2 separate regions of the Homo sapiens genome follow, and region 1 is linked to region 2. Evidence: promoter capture Hi-C in 16 types of primary human blood cells and fetal thymus (Javierre and others, 2016). All regions are on one chromosome and are shown on one strand. The core of a region is centred on a gene start or on the middle of the fragment in contact, and the rest is flanking DNA. Distances in the headings are between cores, read along the strand shown. Region 1 overlaps KCTD19 (potassium channel tetramerization domain containing 19). Region 2 holds the start of TPPP3 (tubulin polymerization promoting protein family member 3).

The links. The method cuts DNA at HindIII sites, captures the fragments that hold promoters and counts their contacts. A CHiCAGO score of 5 or more calls a contact.
Region 1: a fragment that was not itself captured here is called in contact with the fragment with the promoter of TPPP3 in region 2 in 1 of 17 cell types (endothelial precursors); the score reaches 5.6 in endothelial precursors.

The regions. Positions count from the first base shown.
Region 1 is chr16:67,291,049-67,293,949 of GRCh38, reverse strand. It overlaps KCTD19 (potassium channel tetramerization domain containing 19), which reads left to right. Exons shown (of 16, transcript NM_001100915.3): 12 at 1-406; 13 at 2,113-2,304; 14 at 2,487-2,641. Among named protein-coding and RNA genes, the nearest start is that of PLEKHG4, 13 kb to the right of the region's middle. The HindIII fragment of the contact is 4,060 bases long and covers 1-2,901 here.
Region 2 is chr16:67,392,222-67,395,280 of GRCh38, reverse strand. It overlaps TPPP3 (tubulin polymerization promoting protein family member 3), which reads left to right and starts at 1,783. Exons shown (of 4, transcript NM_015964.4): 1 at 1,783-1,901. ZDHHC1 (zDHHC palmitoyltransferase 1) reads left to right here. Exons shown (of 12, transcript NM_001323627.2): 10 at 1-94; 11 at 219-279; 12 at 388-1,129. The coding sequence ends at 671. The HindIII fragment of the contact is 5,780 bases long and covers 1-3,059 here.

The sequences.
Region 1 (2,901 bases), core at 76-2,575, 100 kb after region 2:
CCTGAGAGCCCCCCAAAGAAGAAATGCACCACAATCAACCTCACACAGAAATCTGAAACCAAAGACCCTCCCGCCACTCCCATGCAAAAACTCATCTCCCTGGTGAGAGAATGGGACATGGTCAATTGCAAACAGTGGGAATTCCAGCCACTGACAGCCACACGGAGCAGCCCCTTGGAGGAGGCCACCCTGCAGCTCCCCTTGGGAAGCGAGGCTGCTTCCCAGCCCAGCACCTCAGCTGCCTGGAAAGCCCATTCCACAGCCTCAGAGAAGGATCCAGGACCACAGGCAGGGGCTGGAGCTGGAGCGAAAGACAAGGGGCCAGAGCCAACCTTCAAGCCATACTTACCCCCAAAAAGAGCTGGCACCCTGAAGGACTGGAGCAAGCAGAGGACCAAGGAGAGAGGTGAGTCCTGTCCCCCTTTGATCTAAGTCTTATTCACAACAGAGAAGGCAAACTCTTTGGCCAAGATGGCAGAGCAAGTTAGTGACAAAGGAGGACTAGACCCCCCCGCTCACCAATGCCATCTCTGTGCCAGGCAGCAGACACAGAAATGACTGGCACATTGGCATGGCTGGAGGGGCCAGGAGAACACACACGGCGAAGGGATGAGTGCTGTGGGAAGGAGGTGCCTATGAAGCAGGAGCACAAAAGAGGCTGAGGGCTGGGGAGTCAGCAGGGGAAGGAAGGAGAAGTCCAGGATGTTTGGAAGCGCAGGGCATGGGTCTAGCTGGAGGCCAGGCTTCACATGCAGACGTGATAAAAGATGAGGCTGAAGACAGAAGTCATAAGGACAGGCCTCGTGGGCCAGCTTCAGGACGTGGTACTCCATTCTGACCAGGATGGGAGTGAGCAGCGTCTGAAGGATTTTAGACAAGAGCACGGGGTCAGGTGTGCCCATCAGAAAGTTTGCTCCAGGAGCAGAGGAAATGCAGCAGGAGCTAGGTATTCGAAGCCACTTGGAGTTCTTTCTAGGCTAGGGGAAGCAGGCTAGGCAGGTAGTGGAGGGAAGGAGGGATGGGCCAAGGAGAAGCCAGGTTTCTAGCCTGTGGGACTGCAAGGGGGTGGATAGGCCCTTACTGAGGTGTGGGTAAGAGAAAGAGCAGAGCTTGGGGAAGGGCACATACTGAGTGTGAAATGCCGAGGGACATCCAGGTGGAGAAGCCCAGGAGACAGCAGGGGCTACAGGGACTGAACTGGAGAGAGAGCTTGTGTAGCCAGCTAAGGGAAGGTGGCCAGGGAACTGTGCTGAAAATCGCTGTGCCAGGATGCTGCCTCTGCTCCCTCAAAGCCCTGCCTGCAGTATTGTCACCTTCCCTATTAGTGGCTCCAGCCCTGCTTGGAGGGGCCTTCTTGGACTCTTGCCTGTGAGCCCTAAGTTGGTCTGTCAAGGTTGGGATGACAAATGTCCACTCTTTGGACATGCATCAAAGGCTGGCCCCAAAAGTTCTCAACTTAAAATTTTATAAAGATTTCCAGCCCTCAGCCCCATTTGATACGTCTTAGTTCAACAGAGGAATCTGGAGTTTCTTCGAGTTCCAAAATGTTCAGGATTTGGCTTGCAGTGATGCCAGGGCAATGAAGAGAGGAGTGGCCAGGACAGGCCCCTGCCAGCCCAGGGTGTCACTTCTGAGAAACTAGAGGTGGCAGCTGTTGCAAGGCTGGGGTGACTTGATTGTACTGGCCTGTCACCAGAGGTCCCCTTCCTGCTTGGGCTCTGAGGTGGCTTAAGGAGAGTCCCTGCTTATGAAGATTTGATGGTAATTGAAGAAAAGAATTTTAAAAGCCTGTGCGTGTGGCTCACGCCTGTAATCCCAGCACTTTGGGAGGCTGAGGCGGGTGGATCACCTAAGGTCAGGAGTTCGAGACCAGCCTGGTGAAACCCCATCTCTACCAAAAATACAAAAATTAGCCGGGCGTGGTGGCAGGTGCCTGTAATCCCAGCTACTCAGGAGGCTGAGGCAGGAGAATCGCTGGAACCTGGGAGGCAGAGGTTGCAGTGAGCCAAGATTGTGCCATTGCACTCCAGCCTGGGCAACAAAAGCAAAACTCTATCTTGAAAAAAAATTTTTTTTTAAAAGGAGAGCCCCCTCCCTATGTTGTTTTCACAGAAAGCCCTGCCCCTGAGCAGCCTCTGCCCGAGGCCAGTGAGGTGGACAGCCTAGGGGTTATCCTCAAAGTGACTCACCCCCCCGTGGTGGGCAGCGATGGCTTCTGCATGTTCTTTGAGGACAGCATCATCTATACCACGGAGATGGACAACCTCAGGCACACAACACCCACAGCCAGTCCCCAGCCCCAAGGTGAGGCTCTGGAGCCAGGCCGAGCCCTGCGCCTCCTCGTGAGGATGCCTGAGCCCCCTCCCAGGGTACTTCAGGCAGAGACAGTGGCCCCTGGGGGCCCTACCCCTCTCCCCCTCCTCACACTGTCTCTAAGGCCCTAGCTATTGACAGATGTGGCCACATCCACTTTCCCTCCTCCACAGAAGTGACTTTCCTGAGTTTCTCTCTGTCCTGGGAAGAGATGTTTTATGCACAGAAATGTCACTGCTTCCTGGCTGACATCATCATGGATTCCATCAGGCAAAAGGACCCCAAAGCCATCACAGCCAAGGTGGTCTCCCTGGCCAATCGGCTGTGGGTATGTGTGACAGGCCTCAGGCCCTGGGGCACCCTGTACCTTCTCCACCTCTTCCCCTGCCCCACAATAAGTGGTGCAAGGCAAGAGGAAGTAAGCCAAGATGGGGTTAAGGAGAAGGCCAGGGCCAGAAGAGTGGTGGGACAGGGAGGCAAGCAGAGCAGTTGCACCTGGACTGAGCCTCGGCCAAGAGGCAGATTTGCAGTGACAGTGCCCGCCCCCTACCCCTGTGGCTCTGTGGGCCCAGAGAAGTCCCCGCTCTG
Region 2 (3,059 bases), core at 534-3,033:
TCCCTCCCAGTTTCTTGCCACCCGTGGCCAAGCGGAACCTCCACCACCCTCTTCCCCAGACACTCTCGCCCTGCCTCCCCGGATCCGACCCCAGGTAGGAGGGACTGTGCTGGGCCTCCGGTCCAGGTGGAGTGGGATAGAAAGAAGCCTCTACCCTGGCGCTCGCCTCTGCTTCTTTTGGCGATGTGGGGCCCTCAGGCTCCCCCGTGTCTCTGCAGAAAAAGAGGAAGAGGCGCGTGTATAAAGTGCGAACGTCTGAGACCTCGGATCCGGCGTCGGGTGAGCGCCTCTCCCTGTCCGGGTCCTGCTCTGGGAACTCGAGGGAGGGGAAGGCAGAGCCACAAGCGAGCCGCAGCCACTGGGCTCATGTTCCCTTCCCTTGCGCAGGGCCTAGGGCCCCCAGCCGCCGCTCCAGCTCGTCGACGGATTCCGCGGACGCCAGCCCTGTGCACGCCGCTGGCCCTGCCGGCGCCTACCACTCGGCGTCGGCAGAGTCCGTGGACGAGATTCCAGTGGCGCAGACGCGCCTGGGCAGCGCCGCTCTGGCCGCCCCGCGGGGCCGGGGCCGACAGCCCACGCTGGCGCGGCAGGCGCGTGCGCCCGCCGTTTTCGTGAGCCCGAGCAGCGGCGAGCCCAGGGCGCCGGGCGGCCGGGAGGCTGGTCTGGCTTAGCTGGGCCGAGAGGCCGGAGGGCCGAGTTAGAGCGGCCGGCCTGACTCTCTATGCAACACCCCATCCTTGCCGCACCGAGTGCACTTTAGGGGCCCCTACGGCCGGCGGGATCGGCCTCCCTCCCCCACGACTCAGCAATACCCGCCCCACCGGCTGTGATGCTCCAATAAACTTTTTTATGCTTTTGCGGACGTCGCGCTTACTTTCTTAATGGCAGGGGCCACGGGCCATCCAGAAGCCCGACCCTGGCCAGTGGACCGGGGGCGGGGAGGAGGTCCCTGTATAGTAGGTAGCCACCCAGGCTGCCCTGTGGAGGTGCTCACGTGCGGCTCGTGGTTAGGAAAGGCCTTAGAAGGCGGCCTGGAGGAGGTTATTTTTCTTAAAGATGGGCTTTGCACTGGGAGGCCGAGAGAAAGCAGGCTTTGGGCTCCGAAAGCAGCAGTGGGCGCTGAGGCTGCGAGGCCGTGGGGAGGTGGCGGCGAAAGGAGGGGGCCGAGCCAGGAGGTCCCGCAGCTTTTCCCCGGCAGCAGGGCTGCCGTCGAATGCCAGCATCCTGGGGCTGGGCGAGCGCGATTCGCTCGTAGGGAGTCCCCTCCCTTCTTCCCCACTGCTCCAGGCTCTGAATCCTACCCAAGAGAGCACGGGAGTTGTGGCCTGGGGGTGCCATCCGTTCAGTGGATGGCAGTGCTCTTGAGTCAACCGTATACCCCTGTCACTGAGGGAGAGCTCCTTCCCGATTCCCCAAGCCCCACCAATGCCCCGCGCAGCTCCCCAGTGGCCTCTGGTTGACTCTCTGGGGAGCTGGATCTCTTCTGGAGATTGGGGCCGCTTAGAGCTTTAGGCACATCCCAGGATGGGAGGCTGTTTCCTCAGGGGGCCGTCCGAAGACGCCCCGAACTGCAGAGCGCTGGTCTCGCCGTCGCGAGGACCGCGGAGTTGCGGGGGAGGGGCGGGATGCGGCTCCCGGAGAGTCTCGGGGAGGGCGGGGCCTCGTGGGCGGGGCCGGCGTGACCTTGGTCACTCTCCCGCCGAGACAGCCTCGGGGGTGGGACTCGCCGTCTCTATGGAGACCGAGAAACAGGGGATAATACGGCGGAGCCGCCTGGGCTGCAGTCCCACCCGGGAGCCGGCAGGGAGCGGAGCTGCGGAGCCGCCTGGTCTCCCGCGTCCATCGGTCCATTCCTGCGTCGTTCTGTCCTTCCGAACGCACACTTCAGGAGCAGCCGCGAGGTAGAAGCCCATAGGAGACCCAGATGCCCGCCACCCCAATCAGTATCCTGCACGATGAGGGTTGGGGGGAGCAGCCTGGAAAGGGTCCCAACCTCCGGCGGTCCCAGCCGAGGAGCCAGCTGAGCGGCCCTGCCCTGGCCCCAAGCATTCCACCTCGCAGCCCCCACCTCCTGGTCCGGCTGATTGATGACTCCAGCTGTCCCAGTGGGAGCGGGACGGGTGGCTCCAGTTCACGGGTGTGGCCACTCCATCCATGGCCTGCAGACCCATGGGGCTGCGGCCTGCAACCCAGCGCCACCTGACCGCGCTGAGATGACCAAGAATCCATCTTTCCACGGACAGGAGTGAGCACTGCACGCAGGATCCGCCCAGTGCTTGGGCCAAGCACCCTGTGGCATCCAAGCTCCCCTGGACGTTACCCTTGGTGAACCAAGTGCGGGTCTTGGGGTCCCTGGTGGGAGGTTGCACCCAGGGAAAGGGAAGGGGAGTGCAGCGTGGACTGGGGTTATGGTCCCTGTAACGTAGGAACCACCGGTGCTCACAGTCCCAGAAACTGCCACTTAGGGATGGGAGTGTGGTCACTGGCGAGGAGTTTTTGGTGGAAGATGGGGCAGCCGGGCAGAGCCCAGGCCGTGGTCACTGGAAGCCCTAGTGTAAAAGGCAGAGCTAGAAGATGGTTGCTGAGACCGAGGGTGTGGTCAGGAGGTGGCAGTGGAGGAGGGGGATGTGGTGGGGAGGTCTCTACGCAGGGGATCTCCGCATAGTACCTGGGAGTCTTATAATGTTAGTGTGTGGATGTGGACTGGGGCCTTCAGTGCAGGCTGAGGGTGTGGCCAGAGGGCTGAGGGTGTGTGGACAAAGGGGTGCTGAGGGTCAGGGCGCCTTGATAAAGGGCTGCGGGTATTGGAGGGGGTGAGTGGCTGAGGCTATGGTCAGGGGTCTCAGGAAGGGATGCAGGTTTGTGGCCAGGGGCCTCAGCCCCAGGGCTGCGGGTGTGGGGATGGAGAAGGCTGCTGTGTAGGCTCAGGGTGTGGCCAGGGGTCTGCAGCGGAGGGCTGTGGGTGTGGGGGGCACTTTAGTGCTGGACTGTGGGTATTACTGGGGTTGGCGCAGGCTTGTTAGTATATATGTGGGGGCTGGTGGCCGAGGGCTGTGGCT